7 separate regions of the Homo sapiens genome follow, and all the other regions are linked to region 2. The links are contacts of gene promoters, found by promoter capture Hi-C in blood cells and fetal thymus (Javierre and others, 2016). All regions are on one chromosome and are shown on one strand. Each heading gives the region's core, a stretch centred on a gene start or on the middle of the fragment in contact. The rest is flanking DNA. Distances are from core to core; before and after follow the strand shown.

Region 1 (2,775 bases), core at 207-2,706, 360 kb before region 2:
GATGAGGGGGTGAAAGTTAAATGATACAGGTTTTCTTTTGGAGGTGATAAAAATGTTCTACAACTGTGGTAATGGTAAAACATTTCTGTGAATGTGCTAAAAACCATTCAATTGTACATTTGAAATGGTTGAATTGTATGTGAATTATATCTTAATAAAGCTGGTTTTTGTAAAACCTTAGTTCAGTTTTAAATTCCTAATCTTATAGAGGATTTAGAGTTCTATTAGCTCTTCTCCCTTTTCAGGCTTCTTCTTCTGCATTGTACAGGATCAGGAAGAAAGGAAGGGGAAAATGTGAAGTGTTTCTCTATTTAATGAATCAGCTGTGGCCAACTGTGAGTAGGTGACCTGGTCTTACTCTGGTTAGATCTGGTGGTTTCAGAGTGAAGGATGTTTGTAGTTTTTTGAGTAGCGTTTCTCTTCATTCTGGACTTTTCTGTCATTGAAGACCCCTTCAAATGGTGCTGCTTATCCTCTATTCTCCCAACCTAAACTCACGTTGGATATCACATGGCTTGGTACAGTGGTCTCCTGGCACCTCCCACTGCTCCTGCTCCTTCGGAGACACCTGAAGTCCTTCAAGGGGAGTGGCCAGACTGTGATGGGTTGGGGGGATTGGCCACATTTTCTTCCTAGGCATACTCTGCCAAGGTACCTATAAACCCTGCCAGCACAGATTATTCCAGTGGGCCTTCCACTTTCAGATCTCTGTAGCCAAGAAATTGACATGATTTTTTATGTTTGCACAGGTTAAAAACTCACACCATGCTTTACTCCAACCTGACCAGAGTGGTTTGGCAGGTTCTACAGTTTAAAGCATCTATCTAGGGAATGAAATGCTGTTAGTCTCTCCTTGCTGGTGTCACCAATTGTACCAATGTCTCTCTTGGCATGCCCTCATCTTTGGCTTTGGGAGGAAGGGGAAGTACTTTTATCTTTGCTTCTCATCACAAATTTTGTACATCCCATAATGCCGATAATGAGAATTCCCAGTTGCCCTCCCAGTTCATTCTTTTTGTTGTTGTTGTTGTTGTTTTTGAGGTAGGGTCTCACTCTGTCACCCAGGCTGGAGTGCAGTGGCATGGTCATAGCTCAATGCAGCCTCAACCTCCTGGGCTCAAGTGATCCTCCTGCCTCAGCCTCCTGGATAGCTGTGACTACAGGTGCCCACCACCATACTTGGCTGATTTTTAAATTTTTTGTAGAGACGAGGCCTTACTATGATGCCCAGGCTGGTTTCAAACTCCTGGGCTCAAGCAACCCTCTGCCCACCTCAGCTTCCCAAAGTGCTGGGATTATAGGCATGAGCCACCACACCCGGCCCCAGTTCATCCTTCTTTTTTTTTTGAGATGGAGTCTCGCTCTGTCGCCCAGCCTGGAGTGCAGTGGTGTGATCTCAGCTCACTGCAAGCTCCGCCTCCCGGGTTCACGCCATTCTCCTGCCTCAGCCTCCCGAGCAGCTGGGACTACAGGTGCCTGCCACCACACCCGGCTAATTTTTTGTATTTTTAGTAAAGATGGGGTTTCACCGTGTTAGCCAGGATGGTCTCGATATCCTGACCTCGTGATCTGCCCGTCTCGGCCTCCCAAAGTGCTGGGATTACAGGCGTGAGCCACTGCGCCCGGCCTTATTCTTTATATATACTGTGGTGGGACAAGGGGTGGGAGTTGGTGGATATACGATTGACTACGCCATCTTCTCATGAGATTTGGAAGAGGTTCTGGCTCTAATTGTTGCAGCTTTCTTTAGATTATAAGTAGTATTGTGCCTTCAATAAGACTTGACCACAATTCTGGGGCAACAGGGTAAGTTGCACTCATATCTTTTACACTGGGTTTTCATGCCACCCCCTGGACTCCTCCCAGATGTGCAGATGGAATGGGCAGATAAGGCCGGGTGCCACGGCTCATGCCTATAATCCCAGCACTTTGGGAGGCCGAGGTTGGGGGGGATCACCTGAGGTCAGGAGTCCGAGACCAGCCTGGCCAACATGGTGAAACCTCATCTCTACTAAAAATACAAAAACTAGCTGGGCATGGTGGTGTGTGCCTGTAGTCCCAGCTACTTGGGAGGCTGATGCAGGAGAATGACTTGAATCCGGGAGGTAGAAGTTGCAGTGAGCCAAAATTACACCCTTGCACTCCAGCCTGGGTAACAGAATGAAACTCGGCCTAAAAAAAAAAAAAAAAAAAGAATTGGCAGATTCTGCAAGTTCCTTATGAAGGGTGATTTGTGTGTGTGTGTGTGTGTGTGTGTGTGTGTGTGTGTGTGTGGTTTTCTTTTTGATTATCTTGTCTTATGATCACACATAATTTTAAAATTTGTGTGTATCTCCTCTACTTTAATCCTTTTAAGTTGGCAAAAGCATCATTCCCAATCACAAATACATAGCAGTTCTACAGTTTTATGTTTCTGAATGGCTGTTTAAAGACTATCCTAAATTATAACTTAGTTTGACAAGCATTCAAGAGTGAAGTTTAACTTGCTACTATTTTAAAAGCATGTGACCTTATAGATCATTTATAAAATGTGAGAAATGCTAAATAATCTTTGATATTACACATAAAACACACTAAAATGTCTTTCAATAAGTAAAAGGAACCATTTTAAATACAGGGAATTCTAATTAGATTGGCATAGTTAAGGCCAAAAATATAAAGTAGACATTACTACCTTATTTATCTTCAACCCTTGCCTTTATGGACACAAAACACAGGTGAATCTTGCTTGGTTCTGAGACAGTGAAGGAATTTCTCCAGTATTCAAATATATTC
Region 2 (2,798 bases), core at 223-2,722:
CCTGGGGGCAGACACTCAGCCCCACTGCCCTCCCTGAGACCTAGGGTTCGGAATTTGAGGGAGGGGTCAGAGTGGCTGAGCCAGAGCGGGCGCCTCAGGGATTGGGGTTGGGGTGGGGGTTGCCGATGGCCACTCCTTCCCCTGGCTGGGCCGGCCACTAAGGTCAGCAACTCCACCCTGACTGAACGGGGGAGGCCAGGATCTCCAGAGAAGGGCCCATGTTCCACCCAAGTCTTCAGGCTCTGCCTGACTCTTGTTACTCCAGCTGAGGGAAGAAGAAATGGGGTGATAGTCACTGCCTGCCCCTTCTCTGATGCCGACCCCTCTTCATGCCCTCTCTGCCTCTGCTTCTCTCTGCCACCGAGATCTCTTCTCGCAGCCCCTCTCCACGGGTCTACCCAGTACACATAATCCCATCCCGAGCTGGGTTTGGCTTTGGCAGTTCCCTGGAGAAGTGAGGGGTGGGGGTGACGTGAGCTCCCGGGGCCCGGGCCAGGCCTGGCTCCCTCTCTGGAAAAGTCCCACCCCACCCTCCCCTGCGCAGCCCGGCAGGGGCCCATGCCCCCTCCTCTGCAGAAACACACGCACATTTATGCTTCTCACCCCTTTCCATGTCCCTCATTTGGTGTCGTTCCCGGCCCAGGACGAGGAAAGGAGAGGTCAGAGGTGGTCACTCTGGTGCCAGAGTAGACCCTGGTCTGGACAAACGCGGGCTCCTCCTGGCCACACCTCTCCACACTGCCCAGTGAAGACCAAGGAACAGAGACCTGCGCAGGGCTCACCCCTTCACCCCCAGGTCTCCCTGCTGGAGAGTGGTTGGACCCTGTGTTTCTGGGCCTAGCCATGGAGAATCCCTGTCCTGAGTCCGAATTCCCGGGCCCTCAGAGCCCTCCACTCCTGGGTCTGGCAGGCCACCCCAACAGGTGTCTTTCTTTTTTGTCAACCTCTTCTGCCATCGGGCTGAGCTGGATCAAGGGCACCCACCTGCGTCCCTCGCGGCGACCCTGTCCTCCAAGTTCAGGAGTGCAGTGGGGGACACACCGTCCGAGAGCACCCTCCTAGAGAGAGGGCAGGAGGCACCGGCCGCGCGGGGAGGTCATGGGTCTGTTTTCCAACTTTACTATGTGACTTAGGAGGAATTTTGGTTCACTCCCCGCCCGGGTGATGGGGCCAGAGTTCCACGGGATCAGACTCCCTCCCCAGGAATTCGACCCCAGGGGCTGGAAGATTGTCCGAGGCCACCGGAGCTGGGTCCGGGGTCGTGGCGGGGTCGCGACCGCACAGCGCAGGGAGAGGGGACGACGCGGGCGCGCGGGGCGGGCGGTCTAACGGGACCCGGGAGAGGGGCGGCCGGGGCCGGGGTCCCGGGGAGGTCTCTACCTGCTCTGCGAGCCCCCGGTGGCCCGTTAACCCTTCTGCGCCCAGGCGCTCTCTCCAGGCAACCTCGCTCCGCGGCGGCCACTGGGGCCCCTGAGCCGCGCTCCGGTCACGGCCGCCTCGGCCGCAACTCCGCCCTCGCGCCCGCCCCCGCCCAGCCCCGCCCGCCACGCGCCCCAGCCCGCGCCCCTCGGCGGCCCCGGGGTGGGGCCGGTCTGCCTCGCAGCCCCACTCGCCAGGACCACCCACCCCGGGCTGCGCGCCGGGCGCCCCCCGACGGCTGCGTGAGCTGAAGCCCGGGCTGGCCCAGCCGGGGTCGGAGGCTGCAGTCGCTCCCGGGCGCTGTCCTCGTGCCCGGCCGAGACTAGGGACTTAAGCAGCCCGGGCTGGCCCAGCCGGGGTCAGAGGCTGCAGTCGCTCCCGGGCGCTGTCCTCGTGCCCGGCTGAGACTAGGGACTTAAGCAACCCGGGCCTCCGAGCCGCTCGGGTGAGCGGTGCGAACACGGCGCGGCGCGGCGCGGCACAGGCGGGGCAGCCTCCAGGGGCGCCTGGAGCGAGGCGGCCTGGGAGAGCCGCTGGTCCGGGAGGGAAGCGCCCTGGACGGAGGTACCCGCGGCCCCCGATCCGCGTGGGTCCAGGCTCTCCCCTCCACGCAGCCTCCCCTGCAAACTCAGTCACTCCTGCCTCTCCCGTGTTGGGCAGTGGTGGTTCAGATTGCTGGGACTTCTATGAGCTTCGGTTTTTTTCCTCAGTAAGGTTTTACACTCGGGACTCAGCGAAAGGACAGCGTGCTGACTTCTGAGTCAGACTGATCTGGATTTGAACCTCAGCTCCAGCTCTTGCCAGCTATGTGGTCTTCGACGAATACTTCCACCCCTGTGTGGTGCAGTTTGCTCATCTGCAAAATGGGACTAATCTAATATATATGATGGGCTTGGATATGTCTCTTTATGCATTTATACATGGAAGAATGCACCCCAAACTCAGTAGTATTGGTGACATCTGGGGAGGGATGCAGGGTTGGGGGAGGACTGAAAAAGGCTTTTGCTTTTTACTCTGCGTTATGTTTATTATTATTATATTATTATTTATTTATTTTTTTTGAGACGGAGTCTCACTCTGTCGTCCAGGCTGGAGTGCAGTGGTGCTATCTTGGCTCACTGCAAGCTCCGCCTCCCAGGTTCACGCCATTCTCCTGCCCTAGCCTCCTGAGTAGCTGGGACTACAGGCGTCTGCCACCACGCCCGGCTAATTTTTTGTATTTTTAGTAGAGACGGGGTTTCATCGTGTTAGCCAGAATGGTCTCGATCTCCTGACCTCGTGATCCGTCCGCCTCGGCCTCCCAAAGTGCTGGGATTACAGGCGTGAGCCACCGCACCCAGCTATGTAATGTTATTTTTGTGAATTTTTTTAACCACAAG
Region 3 (2,700 bases), core at 1-2,500, 380 kb before region 2:
CAGTAGAGGAATTAAGAGATATAGAATCCATTACGATGTATATATATTTAAGTATAGACAGTCCTCAATTTAAATGGGCCACATTCCAAAGTGTCTCTGTTTAGAATTTAGAATGCTTTTTCTATAGAAAAATGTTTTAAATAGTGGTTTAGTTTCCAGACTAGTTCCTCAAAAATCCAAAGTAAGCCCAAAGTACAGTACTTTCACCCTTACCTCATTATTTACCTTGCTGTTATCTGAAAATGTATCCTGGCTGGCAGTGGTGGCTCACACCTGCAATCCCAGCAATTTGGGAGGCTGAGGCAGGTAGATCACTTGAGGTCAGGAATTTGACCTCCCCAGCCTGGCCGACATGGTAAAACTCCATCTCTACTAAAAATACAAAAATTAGCCGGGTGTGGTGGCACACGCTTGTCGTCCCAGCTACTCCGGAGGCTGAGACAGGAGAGCTGCTTGAACTCGGGAGGCGGAGGCTGCAGTGAGCCGAGATCACGTCACTGTACTCCAGCCTGGGTGAGACAGAGCAAGTCTCTGTCTAAAAAAAAAATAAAATAAAATAAAAATAAAATAAAAAAATGCTCATTATCAGTGGCCATCAGAGAAATGCAAATCAAAACCACCATGAGATACCGTCTCACACCAGTTAGAATGGCGATCATTAAAAAGTCAGGAAACAACAGGTGCTGGAGAGGATGTAGAGAAACAGGAACACTTTTACACTGTTGGTGGGACTGTAAACTTGTTCAACCATTGTGGAAGACAGTGTGGCGATTCCTCAAGGATCTAGAACTAGAAATACCATTTGACCCAGCAATCCCATTACTGGGTATATACCCAAAGGATTATAAATCATGCTGCTATAAAGACACATGCACACGTATGTTTATTGCGGCACTATCCACAATAGCAAAGACTTTAAACCAACCCAAATGTCCATCAATGATAGACTGGATTAAGAAATGTGGCACATATACACCATGGAATACTATGCAGCCATAAAAAAGGATGAGTTCATGTCCTTTGTAGGCACATGGATGAAGCTGGAAACCATCATTCTGAGCAAACTATAGCAAGGACAGAAAACCAAACACCGCACGTTCTCATTCATAGGTGGGAATTGAACAATGAGAACACCTGGACACAGGATGGGGAACGTCACATACTGGGGCCTGTCGTGGGGTGGGGGGAAGGGGGAGGGATAGTATTAGGAGATATACCTAATGTAAGTGACACCAACATGGCACATGTATACATATGTAATAAACCTGCACGTTGTGCACATATACCCTAGAACTTAAAGTATAATAAATTTAAAAACAATGTATTCTAAGTGACAACTAGAGCACCAGAAACAAATCTTTTGGGGGTATGGGAACTTACTAATGCTTCAGAGTTACGTAAGACAGAAATTCTTTACAATCCTCACTCCCTGGATGATCTTACTAGGGAAATGAAGCAATTGTTCTAAGATAGAGCACAGGAGGAAGAAGGGGAAAGGACTTAAGACTTGGACTCCCTTACTGCTGATCATGTATTAGCTGCTGACAGATGAAAATTATATTTACGGCTGATTGTAAGGTCAGATTTTTGACCATAAACTTTGAGGAAGAGTAAGGTTCTAAACATCTGTACTTCATAAAGTATAAAATGTTTGGTACACAGCCTGGCCAACATGGTGAAACCCTGTCTCTACTAAAAATATAAAAAATTAGCTGGGTGTGGTGGCGGATGCCTATAATTCCAGCTACTCGGGAGGGGGAGGTGGGAGAATCACTTGAACCCGAGAGGTGGAGGTTGCAGTGAGCCAGGATCACTCCACTGCACTCTAGCTTGGGTGACAGAGCGAGACTCCGTCTCAAAACATAAAATAAAATGCTTGGTTCAATGTCATGAACAATTATTCTCTAAAAACATCTCCCAATGGAGAGATTTCCTTCTATTTTCCATGGAGTTCTCACCTGGATGCATCATCAAAGAGTTGGTCAACGTGAGCCACCTCAGATTCTTTCTGTATTACCCATGTCTCTAACTCTGCTAGCTGCTTCTTGCGTTGCTGTACACAATCCATCTTCTCCAGTTCCTCATCGATGAAATGCCGAAGTTCCTCCATAGAGATACCCAGTTCCTCAACCACTGCCTGTTGCAGCTCTGCAATCTCTTCAGACTCCACTGTAGCTGTTGCTGCATCCAAACCAATGCACCCAGGAAGGGAAGACATGCTTTTGTCCTCTGCATGGAACAGAAAACAAATTAAATTGGAGTCCTTATAACTACAATCAATCAATAGAGAATTTCAGTTCCCTAATAAAACTAATTCCTACTCTGCTGCCTGTTATTCTATTCAAATATTCCATGTTCTCCCTCCCTATTCTCCAGAATCTGATGCTGAGATTTTTAAGAGTTCTTATCTTCTGCTGTACGCTAACACTCCTGAAAAAGATTTAAGAGTTTGAGACGGCATGGAGAACATTCATTAAGCAGTAGAGAGCTACTGAAAATAATGTTTTGGGCTGGCACAGTGGCTTACACCTGTAATCTCAGCACTTTTAGAGGCCGAGGCAGGAGGGTCGCTTGAGGGCAGGAGTTCAAGACCAGCCTGGGCAACATGGCAAGACTCGTCTTTACAAAAAAATACAAAAATTAGCCACGTGTGGTGGTGCACGCCTTTAGTTCCAGCTACTCAGGAGGCTGAAGTGGGAG
Region 4 (2,828 bases), core at 170-2,669, 410 kb before region 2:
AGGAACACTTGGACAAATATGGGATGGGAGGGATGTCAGGCCGAGGTTAGAGTGGTGATCTCTCCCCACCCTTTAGGGCCTTTGGAGGTGGAGAAGGGATCCTGCCTGCTAGCACCACATTGGAAGGGATCATCTGGTCCAGAACCCCCATTTCTATCAACTAGGAGCTGGGGGGAGTAGCTAGCCCAGAGACTTCGGGTCAGGGTTCAACAATCAGGAAGACCCAGTTCCTGAGGAAACGACAGTTCAAGAAGGGTTGGGAAGAAGGCTGTCCTCTAAAGAAGACGTCCTCTGCATTCAATGGCCCCACAGCAACAGAGTAGCTCCTTGCCTTCCACACTGCCCACCTCGTAGTTGTAGTCCCAAGTAAGTTCTGTCCCAGCCCGGATTCTTCTGAAGAGGAAGAAAAGGATGGTGTGTGGCAAAGACAGCAGATAACCCAGGCACTTGGGGTTACTGAATATGTAGGTGGAGTTGGATCATGAATGGAGGAGGGGCCCTTAGAACTTCAGTGGTCCTTGCCCCTCCCCAGTCATCCCCTTTCCTGACTCCTTACTTGCTGGCAAAGAAGGCCACCCAGGGGAAGCGAAGATCATGGGTATCCACGAAGACATTCTGGACAAACAGGTTGGGGCTGCAACTGTGCTGTAGGTTTAAGGACAGGATCAAATAAGAACCAGGGAAACTGAACCTGGCTTTGCAGGGAGAGTGAGAGTTGGAAGAAAAATGATGCCATCTGACCCTCCCCATTATAATAGATGCTTTGAAAGAAAGCTACCTCTTTAAGATCCTTTGAGATCAAGAGTTTATAACAAGAAAAGGGCTTATAGAGTATGTTAAAAGAAATCTGAGGACCATGGGATAATCCAGCATCTAGAGGTGGGGAGAGGGGTCTCACGTTGAGGTAGCGGCCCAGGTTGCCTTCAAGCTTGGCATCAATGATGTAGCAAGACTCCTCGCCATCATAGAATTGGCGTGTGTTCTTACGAACAGGTGCGCTCTCCCCCTTGTCCACAGAGGCCATGTTGGTTGATTTAATTGCAATCCCATGGGTTGATTTAAGAGCAAAGCCTCGGGTTGATTTTACTGCCACTTGACGCTTCATTGGACCTGGACAGGAGGGAGAATGGGGTCAGGACCCATCCCAACTCATGAACAGACATTCTATCATGAATGGACATTCTACCCCTATTTCTCTCCCAACATTGCAGCTGAGAAACACCAATAAGCTGGAACTCAAAGATCCTAAGTAGCAGGTTTTTTTTTCAAGCATAATTAGATCTGCTAGACAAAGGAGCTGAGGGGAAAGAGTAAAAAAATGGAAATGAGAGAGGATGTGTCAAACAATAGTTTAGCTTGGAGTCAGAAAGCCCTCCCAGAGATGCTCCAATTCTTAGGATCTGAATTTTTACCCACTACTTCTTTAGCTTCCTTAAAAAATGCTCTATCCCAAGTTTCTTACTATTTCTTCCCACCATTCCCAAAATTTTTCCAGGCTACCAGTCATGTTCTTCTTGTCCTCAAAGTCATCCCCTTCAGAGCCAGAGGATATGGTCTGGATATCATCACTGTCAACCGCTGTAGCCGAAGTCTGACCAGCAGTGGGCTTTCGGCTGGTCCCACTTTCCCCCTCACTTTCTGTGCTGCTGGACAGTGTCAGGACATCCTGGGGAAGCAGGAGGGTAAGAAGTAAGAGAAGTAAATGGGAAGGGCTCCTTTAAGTCCTTGCTGTTACCCACGGTTTGGCAGGAAAGGGCGGTGGCAAGAGGAAGATTAGATGCTGGATGAAAGAAAATAAGGCAGGAAGTCAAGGCTAAAGAAGTAGGAGAAGACCTAACAGTAATTATAGTGAAGGACTTGATGAGGTGACAATGGCCCATTTTCCTTTATTAGACTCTGAATAAGCTTGAGGTGACTTACATCAGGGTTGGACTGAGCAGAAGCCATGAGTCTTCGGCTTTGATGCATACTAGTCTTACTAGGTGGGCGGCGAAGTCCTTCAGGCTTCACAGGAGAAGGATTGTAACCGTAATTTCGAGAGCTTTCAGTAACTCTAATGGGAGGGGAAGGAATGAAGCCAACAGGTTACTGGCTGTTTCTTAGGCTTCTAGCCTAGGTTTGAGAGAAGGCAGATTTGGAGACAGGTCAAAAAGACAGGCACTGGGCTGGACACGGTAGCTCATGGCTGTAATCCCAGCACTTTGGGAGGCTGAGGATCCCCTTTGGGAGCATCGCTTGAGCCCAGGAGTTCAAGACCAGTCTGGGAAACATGGTGAAACCCCGTGTCTACAAAAAATACAAAAACTAGCCAGGCATGGTGGTGCACACCCGTAGTCCCAGCTACTAGGGAGGCTGAGGTGGGAGAATCTCTTGAGCCTGGGAGGGGGAGGTTGCAATGAGCTGAGATTACGCCACTGCACTCCAGCCTGGGTGACAAAGCAAGACTCTGTCTCAAAACAAAACAAAACAAAAGGCACTTACACTGACATCTTGTTTCGGTCGTCAGTGTCCTGGAAAAGAACAAGTGAAGGGTTAAATGCTTTCACAGCCTCGGGTAACAAGTCCAATAATCAGACTTCAAATGACCTCCACAGATAACATCAGCCAGTGACAGGTACACATTCTAAAGTGGGGTGGGTAAACCACTCTGCAACTTGACAGAAATCCTCACTACACTCCCTGGCTGGAGCCTTTAAGCCTTCTCAGTGATGGGGCTTAATGCTCATGGAAAACACCACGAGCAGGATTACATCAACCAGGGACAGTTTCACCATCTGTAATGTGGAAAGCAGCATAATCATCAAAGAGATACTTAAAATCAATTCTTG
Region 5 (2,700 bases), core at 137-2,636, 400 kb before region 2:
GAGTTCAAGACCAGCCTGACCAACATGGAGAAACCCCGTCTCTACTAAAAATACAAAATTAGCCGGGTGTGGTGGCGCATGCCTGTAATCCCAGTTACTCGGGAGGCTGAGGCAGGAGAATTGCTTGAACCAGGGAGGCGGAGGTTGTGGTGAGCCGAGACTGCACCATCGTACTCCAGCCTGGGCAACAGGAGCGAAACTCCATCCCCCCCAAAAAAAAATTCCTTATCTACTTAATAAAGTATGTGCCAGGATCCATGATGGGTATCAGGAACACAACAATGAAAAATATATACTCCTTGTTTAAGGAATTACAGGAGCAACAGATATCTATACTGAGTATAAGAGGTATGACAGCTGGGCACAATAGCTCACACCTATAATCCTGGTATGTCGAAAGGATGAGGCAGACAGACTGCTTGAGCTCAGGAGTTCGAGACCAGCCTGGGCAACATGGCGAAACCCGTCTCTACTAAAAATACAAAAATCAGCCAGGTGTGGTGGCATGCACTTGTAGTCACAGCTACTTGGGAGGCTGATGTGGGAGGACCACTTGAACCCTGGAGGTTGAGGCTGCAGTGAGCTGTGATTGCACCACTGCACTCCAGCCTGGGTGGCAGAGTGAGACTGTCTCAAAAAACAAAACAAAACAAAACAAAACAAAACAAAACAGGCCAGGCGTGGTGGCTCACGCCTGTAATCCCAGCACTTTGGGAGGACAAGGCAGGTGGATCACTTGAGGTCAGGAGTTCGGGACCAGCCTGCCAACATGGTGAAACCCCGTCTCTACTAAAAATACAAAAAATTAGCCAGTCCCAGCTACCCGAGAGGCTGAGGCAGGAGAATCACTTGAACCCAGGAGGCGGAAGATGCAGTGAGCCGAGATCGTGCCATTGCACTCTAGCCTGGGCAACAAGAGTGAAACTCCGTCTGAAAACAAAACAAAACACCAAACAAAAAGCATGATAAGGATCATAAGGCCTTAGAAGTAACGGGCTGAGGTAACACCAAGAAGAAATATAACTTCTAATTTCTTCTGGCTACTCTGGGCACACTGCCTATCAGGTAGCCTTGTTCTGCAAGCAGCAGTATTAAAAAATGTTTTTAAAACTTTTAAAAATAAGAAATATGATTCTAAGAAGGGAGAGAGAAGGGAGAAAAGGATGAGTACAAAATACCTAAGAGTTAAACTGAGCCTTGAAAGATAATCAGGACTCCTTGATCCCTCTTCTTCGTCCCACTATCCTACTAAAACCTTAACCCTGGAAAAATGGAATTGGCTGCCCTTTCTGTACCTACACACAATGTGAATACTCCTAAAGAAAAAAAATAAATAAATCAAAACCATGCAGATTCGTATTATAATTCAGATAATTTATTTTCAACAATGACCTGCAGAGGAACAACAAAAAGGGCAAAGTAAAATTTGACCAAAAACAGTGAGAACACATACGAGGATAAGAAAGAGGAAGGCTATGGAATAGCTATAAAACCATCCTCATTACTGCTTCTTAAGTTCCCCCCCCACCAACCTCTGCCTCCAAAATTGTAGAGAAGAACAGTACCAGGAAGAGGATCCTGACTAGGCTGCCATCCACCTCCTCAACTCGGGACTTCCACCACGTGCCTTCCCACTCAGTCTTGATAAGCTGGCCACTCTTGAGCAGTACCATGGGGCGGTTGGGGTAGGCAGTGACATACTCCTCTATGAAGTCACGGCAGGAGATGTCTTCTATGTCCTCCCAAGTCTTTTTCACTGTTTCAAGGAAGAAGTAGAACTGAGAGGGCAGGTAGGGCATGTCTTGATAGGGAAAAGACTTGGCCAGGAGACATTTGATACTTTTTAAGTTGAAAAGGAGAGAAAAAGTAAAATCAGAACCTCAAGGGAAGCAAAGCCAAGACCACCTAAGTAATAAACCTAATGTACAAACTGTACATACTTACAAATCAAGTAAATACTAAATAAGAAATGTACAATATAGGTGATTCACTTATTTTACACAAATGGATGTTTCTCCTCTGGAAAATTCAAGTGGAAATTCTTGCTCACTTGTTGATCAGTCTAGTGGTAAATTTAAAAAGATCAGGTGGCATCATGAAATGAAAAAAATTAGTCCTTCCTTCTCATTCTCTATCAGGTTTTTAAGAGACTCAGAATGTGTTTACTGTCATGTTATGTGTAAACAAAAGTGTTAGTTGATTCTTCTGCAGTTAAAAATGATTGTTTCCATAGGAGTCTGCTCCCAAGCCAGGGTAACAAATATAGTGGACACTATGAGGTTCCATCTAACACAGCTTCTGTGGAAAGCATTATGCAGACTACACATTTATACAAATGTTAGGTGCAGTATGACACTAGGAAAGAAGTAACACCTTTTCCAACGTAACTCACTTAGAAATGAAATTGAAGCACATCTATAACGTGAGCAGTCTACTCAAGGCCATTCATGATCTTCTAGTGTCTCACTCTTTGTCTACAAAGACCCAGTCCTGGAGATGAACAATAAAACTGTATCTCTTTTGGGAGCAAACTGACCTTTGGGAGCAAAAGACATCAACCAAACTTATGCTCTTTGAGACTGAAATACCAAAAACACTAGGGCTTTTCAACTGGATGTCCTAAGAAGAAATACAAGGTAGAGGAGAAAACTGAGCTAAGGAATAAGGGAGAAACACTCACGTGGCCGGCAAATGGGATAC
Region 6 (2,888 bases), core at 26-2,525, 430 kb before region 2:
AGCCCAGAAACTCCCTTGACTGCTGCCTTACTAGAGCCAGCTGACCTAGGTGGAGAGTGCCCAGGGATTGTGTATATCTGTGGAGAAGGAAGGGCACAAGTATTTGGGAGTGGAAGTTGATGAACAGAGTCAAGAGAGAAAAATGCAAAGGGTGTTACCTTCAGAGGGAAGCTCTATGCTCCCAAAAGGCAACAGGGAGATGGGGGAGGCTCCCTTGCCTGGTTTCTTAGATTGCTTCTGTTGCCTTTTGGCAGCCTGGGCCCTGTGGCTGTTTTAGCTGCAGGTGATGCAACCCCAGCAGCTGGACTTGAGGCTGTCTCTGCACAGAGCAGCAGGTGAACAGCCCTGTGGAGCCCCCGCCCCGCCATGCAGCAACTGCTCCAGCCTCACAGCTGGCTCCCTCAGGTCTAAACACAGCCTCTTTCCTGCCTCCCTGGAGAGCCTGGGTAGGGGCGGGGCACAGAAGCTACAGCCCTGCCTCCACTCACTCCTCTGCCTCTCTCCCAACTCAGGAAGGCCTTCACTGGCATTCCTACATCCCTGGAGGAGGGACCTGCAGTGGCTCCACCACACTGAGTAGACCATGCCGGAGGACACGCCATGAAAGGATATTTCTGTGGCGGTAATCACTGCTCCTCACTTTTCTCTCCTGTTAAAAGGAAAACATGCACCTGTGTCAGAACTGGAGAATGAGGGTTCAATATCCAGCTCTGCCACCTATGTTCTGTAAGCTTCGCTAGTCCTTTCAGCTCTCTAAATGGGAGGATTGAGAGAGACGGAGGCTGTGGGACATGCTGGGGCCTCCGAGGACAGGTTTCCTGGGATGATTAAATGAAGTAATGTGTCCACTAAAGAACTTATCCATGTAACCAAACACCACCTTGTCCCCAAAAACTATTGAACTCATAAAAATAAATAAATAAATAAATAAATAAATAAGGTAATGTGGCCAGGCACGGTGGCTCATGCCTGTAATCCCAGCACTTTGTGAGGCCGAGGCGGGTGGATCATGAGGCAGGAGATCGAGACCAGCCTTGGCTTACACAGTGAAACCCCGTCTCTACTAAAAATACAAAAAATTAGCCGGGCATGGCGGCGCATGCCTGTAATCCCAGCTACTCGGGAGGCTGAGGCAGGAGAATCACTTGAACCTGGGAGGCAGAGGTTGCAGTGAGCTGAGATGGCGCCACTGCACTCCACAGCCTGGGCGACAGAGTGAGACTCCGTCTCAAAAAAAAAAAAAAAAAAAAAAAGTAATCTGTGTAATTGCATGTGGCAGAGAAAAGTGCCCTGTAAAGTAGGGGTATTAGATTAAATAAATAAATATACAGGACATGCAGCTTAATCAGAATTTCACGTAAATGAGGAATCATTTGTTGGTACAAGTATGACCCAAATATTTCATTAAATATACTAACATTTTTTTTTTTGAGGCGGAGTCTCTCTCTGTTGCCCAGGCTGGAGTGCAGTGGCATTATGTTGGCTCACTGCAAGCTCCACCTCCCGGGTTCAAGCGATTCTCCTGCCTCCGCCTCCCGAGTAGCTGGGATTATAGGCGCCTGCCATCATGCCTGGCTAATTTTTTGTATTCTTAGTAGAGATAGGGTTTCACCATGTTGGCCAGGCTGGTCTCGAACTCCTGACCTCGTGATCCACCTGCCTTGGACTCCCAAAGTGCTGGGATTACAGGCGTGAGCCACCGCCTGTAATTATTATTTTTTGTTTATCTGAAATTATAGTTTAACAGTGTGTCCTGTATTTCACCTGACAACCCCAAAATGGAACTCAGTCTCAGCGTGGTGGCTAAAAGCAAAGCTTCTGGAGCCAGACTTCTCAGAGTCGGGATTCTGGTCTTCTGTGTGACCTTGGGCAACTATTCTGTGCTCAGTTTCCTCATCATCAACAGACAAGTAATAGTGTTTATGTTATAGGTTGTTGTGAGAATTAAATAACTACAGTGCATATAAAGCACTTAGAAGAGTTCTGGGCACAGCGCTGTTAAGTAGAAATGTCACAATGTTATCAAATATATAACGATAAGTATTGTTATATGGTAACTGTTACTGTTGTTATTACTTACCTCCTTAAGAATTCCGATCTTGGCTCGCTTCTGAAACTTTTCTGGCCAATCCCCAAAATGGCCACAAGAGGGCGTCAGCAGCCACTGAGAGTCTCGAGCCCCCTAGTGGCCCCTTGAGGTCTCTGGCTCCAGCCCCACATATTAAGGGGCTGTCTCAGCCCACTTGGGAAGTGCAGCCTCCTGAGGACGCCAGGTTCCTGGGTGGAATTGGTATGCAGGTAGCATCAGGGGAAGAGCCTCAGGTAGATACCTACTCAGGGGAGCCCCCGAGGCTGACCTCAGACACATGCAGGAGACTGGGTGACCGCAGTTAGGCTGGGTAAACACGGTACTGCAGCTCCGCAGCCGGGGTCCCCCTGGCCCTCGGCTTTCTGTACCCTTCAGAGTTTCTTCTGGCTACCTGCCCAGCAGATTTAGGGAGAACCGAAGGAAGCGTGAGGCCTCCTGTTTCCTCACGCCGAATCTCTCCAAGGGGCTCCTGGCCGGCATGCCAGGCTGAACTCTGAATTTGGAGAAGTCCAACAGAGTCTCAGTCACATGGCAGAAGCGAAGTCCTTGCCTGTGAGGAGTGTGTGTGTGATGCGTTCACAATCGCTGCATTGAAACCTGCTACAAACTCATTCCTCTCCCTAGGTTTTGTTTTGTTCAACTTCAGGGCCGGATTGCAGTTGTTTACAGTTGTACTGATCACCTTCCTTCCCCATGTTGTACATTTTAGAATTGCAGAGTTGGAGGAAATCTTAGAGAGGATCTAATCTACCACCTTTTCTTTTCTTTTTTTTGAGACAGAGTCTCACTCTGTTGCCCA
Region 7 (2,766 bases), core at 157-2,656, 340 kb before region 2:
CTCCTTGTGTGACAGGGGCTGGGCACTGACTGTCTCCTGGCTGTCTATCTATTTCAGAAGGTTCTGGAAGGCAGTAATTTTTTACCTTGAGCCAAATCTGTCTTCTTAGTACAGCTTCACTTTTTACTTAGGACTGTTTAAGGCAACACATATCTTTTCCATACACAAGAGTTTCAGTAATTTAAAAATAGCTATTAAGTACGTTTGATTGGTTTCTCAGAGGATGTGGTCTACCACTCTACCCTTTTTCTACTGAAGATTTTCTAGTGTGTCTATATTCCTTTTAAAATGTGGTGCCCAATACAGAATACAAGATGCATGCAAACTCAAGATTATTCATCTAGATACTATACTTCTGTTGCTTAAGACAGGACCATACTGAACCTTGAAAGTCAGGGCAAGGACTTTGAATTTTGTTCTTTCAGGTATCGGGAAGCAATGGAAGGTTTTGAGCAGATAAACATTTTGGGAGCAGGGGCCATATCTTACTGTGTATCCCATTGATTCTAACTAGAATGTAAGCTCTAGGTGTCTGTCCCATTCATAGCATGGATTCAGTGCCTGGGGAGGGCTGGCATATTTTATGTATTTAATACGTCTACATGAATGAATTAATATGAATCTCTATCGGTGTCTGGCACATAGTGCATACAACAGTTCATACTTGTTGAATTCAGGCAGGTAAATGATCAAAGCCATACTTCAGGAAGATAACTGGCAAGAGTGCGTAAAAAGTATTGGAGCTAACACACACTATAGGGTGAAAACAACAAGAGGAGTTTTAGCAGTCTCAACAAGGGGAAACAAGGGCTAGGATAACACAGTGAGTAACAGAAAGGAAAGAATGGATGTGAGATTGTGAAAGAGAATTTGTGACGACCTGGAAATTAAGTGGACATGTAGTGGGAAGAAGAAGGAAGTGATAAAGAAAACTCCTGGGCTTAAATTTGGAAAGCTGAAAGAAAAATGATGCCATTCATAGAATTATTTATTTTAGGAGTTGCTTTTTTTTTTTTTTTTGAGACAGAGTCTTGCTGTGTCGCCCAGGCTGGAGTGCAGTGGTGCGATCTCGGCTCACTGCAAGCTCTGTCTCCCGGGTTCACGCCATTCTCCTGCCTCAGCCTCCCGAGTAGCTGGGACTACAGGTGCCCGCTGCCACGCCCGGCTAAGTTTTTGTAGAGACGGGGTCTCATCCTGTTAGCCAGGATGGTCTCGATCTCCTGACCTCGTGATCCGCCCGCTTCGGCTTCCCAGAGTGCTGGGATTACAGGCGTGAGCCACTGCACCCAGAGGAGTGGCAGATATTTTAAGGTACTAGGATGAAATCAGTCTGAGGTAGGCTGAATTTAAATGCACTGATACAATATGCTCAGGAGGCTAAAATGTGGGACTGGAATTCAGAAGTAGAGTGAGATCGGCTAGGCACGGTGATTCATTCCTATAATCCCAGCCCTTTGAGAGGCTGAGGCGGGTGGATTGCTTGAGCCCAGGAATTCGAGACCAGTCTGGGCAACATAGCAAGACCCCATCTCTACAAAAAAACAAAAACAAAATCAAATTAGCCTGGCGTGGTGGCACGCACCTATAGTCCCTCCCAGCTACTCAGGAGGCTGATGTGAGAGGATCGATTGAGCCCAGGAGGTCAAGGATGCAGTAAGCCATGATCGCACCACTGCACTCCAGCCTGGGTGACAAAGCAAGCCCCTGTCTAAATAAATAAATAAATAAATAATAAAATACATTCTTATTAGAAAGGAAAATGCTGTTTTGTTTCTAAGTATGCCATGTATATTTTTTACTCATTTTCATATGCAGTGATCCAGATTTTGTATGGCCTAAAATTTATACAACATGGGGGTCTCTCTTTAAGGAAAGAATAAAAGATTTAAAATACAAAATTAGGGCCAGGTGCAGTGGCTCACCCCTGTAATCCCAACACTTTGGGAGGCCGAGGTCGCGGGGGATCACCTTCGGTCAGGAGTTCGAGACCAGCCTGGCCAACATGGTGAAACCCTGTCTCTACTAAAAAGTACAAAAAATTAGCCAGGCATGGTGGTGCACGCCTGTAGTCCCAGCTACTCGGGAGGCTGAGGCAGGAGAATTGCTTGAACCTGGGAGGCAGAGGTTGTATTGAGCCAAGATCGCGCCACTGCACTCCAGCCTAGGCGGCAGAGTGAGACTGTCTCAAAAAAAAAAAAAATAAATTAGGTAAAATGTTTTCAAAATGGGGGGAAAAGTCACAACAAATTTAATTCTTATGCAAAATAGCTTTTCTTGAGAAATACACTTTCAAAAATGGTAGAGCTAAAATCTGTTTTCCAAAGGGAATACCTGTCTTAGAATTTTTTTTAAGTGGCTTTTAAGGTTCTTGTTTTGTTTGAGATGAGTAGCAGCACTTCTTGGGATTATAGTAGGAGAAAGGAGGTGTGGTGTGAAGCTATTGGTTTATGTTAAATTTGGACCTACTAAAGTAAGAATCAGAATAATGGCATTTACAAATCCTTGGCAACATCAATTCCACTTTCAGTTCCAGAAAGATCCATTACCTTTTCCTTTCTCTGTGTTCCTTTTCCAGATCACTTCATTCTTCCCACCTGCAATGACCTGCCATTCTTGAAGAAGACCAAAATACTAAAAAGACCCAGTTTTTCTCTCCTGGCCATAAGTTTAGTGCAAAGAGAGAGATGATGGTGAAGAAACACAATAATGCAGCTTTTTTTTACTATAATCCTTAAAATCAAAGACACTCTCTGGCTAATAGGACTA

The links. The method cuts DNA at HindIII sites, captures the fragments that hold promoters and counts their contacts. A CHiCAGO score of 5 or more calls a contact.
Region 1: a contact is called between a fragment that was not itself captured here and the fragment with the promoter of ADAMTSL4 in region 2, in 1 of 17 cell types (endothelial precursors). The highest score is 5.9, in endothelial precursors.
Region 3: a fragment that was not itself captured here is called in contact with the fragment with the promoter of ADAMTSL4 in region 2 in 5 of 17 cell types (endothelial precursors, erythroblasts, neutrophils and 2 more); the score reaches 9.6 in endothelial precursors.
Region 4: a fragment that was not itself captured here is called in contact with the fragment with the promoter of ADAMTSL4 in region 2 in 5 of 17 cell types (activated CD4 T cells, fetal thymus, erythroblasts and 2 more); the score reaches 6.4 in activated CD4 T cells.
Region 5: a fragment that was not itself captured here is called in contact with the fragment with the promoter of ADAMTSL4 in region 2 in 2 of 17 cell types (erythroblasts and naive CD8 T cells); the score reaches 7.3 in erythroblasts.
Region 6: a fragment that was not itself captured here is called in contact with the fragment with the promoter of ADAMTSL4 in region 2 in 2 of 17 cell types (fetal thymus and erythroblasts); the score reaches 6.9 in fetal thymus.
Region 7: a contact is called between a fragment that was not itself captured here and the fragment with the promoter of ADAMTSL4 in region 2, in 1 of 17 cell types (neutrophils). The highest score is 5.1, in neutrophils.

What each region holds. Positions count from the first base shown.
Region 1 is chr1:150,904,562-150,907,336 of GRCh38, reverse strand. The region is part of intron 1 of CTXND2 (cortexin domain containing 2); the gene reads right to left. It overlaps LOC107985204 (a long non-coding RNA gene), which reads left to right. Exons shown (of 3, transcript XR_001738231.2): 2 at 246-335. Among named protein-coding and RNA genes, the nearest start is that of CTXND2, 19 kb to the right of the region's middle. The HindIII fragment of the contact is 6,110 bases long and covers 1-2,775 here.
Region 2 is chr1:150,548,082-150,550,879 of GRCh38, reverse strand. ADAMTSL4 (ADAMTS like 4) reads right to left here and starts at 1,472. Exons shown (of 19, transcript NM_019032.6): 1 at 1,381-1,472; 2 at 985-1,058. LOC124904417 reads right to left here and starts at 590. Exons shown (of 1, transcript XM_047438226.1): 1 at 1-590. The coding sequence starts at 590. It overlaps ADAMTSL4-AS2 (ADAMTSL4 antisense RNA 2), which reads left to right. Exons shown (of 6, transcript NR_187269.1): 6 at 2,130-2,316. RefSeq lists an enhancer at 1-266 and silencers at 1,602-1,741, 1,912-2,061, 1,993-2,287. The HindIII fragment of the contact is 42,411 bases long and covers 1-2,798 here.
Region 3 is chr1:150,927,233-150,929,932 of GRCh38, reverse strand. SETDB1 (SET domain bifurcated histone lysine methyltransferase 1) reads right to left here. Exons shown (of 22, transcript NM_001366418.1): 2 at 1,959-2,229. The coding sequence starts at 2,218. Among named protein-coding and RNA genes, the nearest start is that of SETDB1, 2.2 kb to the right of the region's middle. The HindIII fragment of the contact is 3,618 bases long and covers 1-2,700 here.
Region 4 is chr1:150,961,812-150,964,639 of GRCh38, reverse strand. SETDB1 (SET domain bifurcated histone lysine methyltransferase 1) reads right to left here. Exons shown (of 22, transcript NM_001366418.1): 17 at 2,482-2,510; 18 at 1,921-2,053; 19 at 1,501-1,666; 20 at 899-1,110; 21 at 557-645; 22 at 1-393. The coding sequence ends at 276. Among named protein-coding and RNA genes, the nearest start is that of CERS2, 12 kb to the left of the region's middle. The HindIII fragment of the contact is 977 bases long and covers 931-1,907 here.
Region 5 is chr1:150,943,974-150,946,673 of GRCh38, reverse strand. It overlaps SETDB1 (SET domain bifurcated histone lysine methyltransferase 1), which reads right to left. Exons shown (of 22, transcript NM_001366418.1): 8 at 2,681-2,700; 9 at 1,566-1,756. Among named protein-coding and RNA genes, the nearest start is that of SETDB1, 19 kb to the right of the region's middle. RefSeq lists a cis regulatory region at 2,493 and an enhancer at 2,421-2,565. The HindIII fragment of the contact is 8,160 bases long and covers 1-2,700 here.
Region 6 is chr1:150,978,938-150,981,825 of GRCh38, reverse strand. It overlaps LOC105371438 (a long non-coding RNA gene), which reads left to right and starts at 321. Exons shown (of 3, transcript XR_922135.3): 1 at 321-405; 2 at 513-622; 3 at 1,740-1,868. It also overlaps a transcript of ANXA9 not described here. The HindIII fragment of the contact is 1,084 bases long and covers 734-1,817 here.
Region 7 is chr1:150,887,654-150,890,419 of GRCh38, reverse strand. The region is part of intron 1 of CTXND2 (cortexin domain containing 2); the gene reads right to left. It also overlaps a transcript of LOC107985204 not described here. Among named protein-coding and RNA genes, the nearest start is that of CTXND2, 1.9 kb to the right of the region's middle. The HindIII fragment of the contact is 3,730 bases long and covers 1-2,766 here.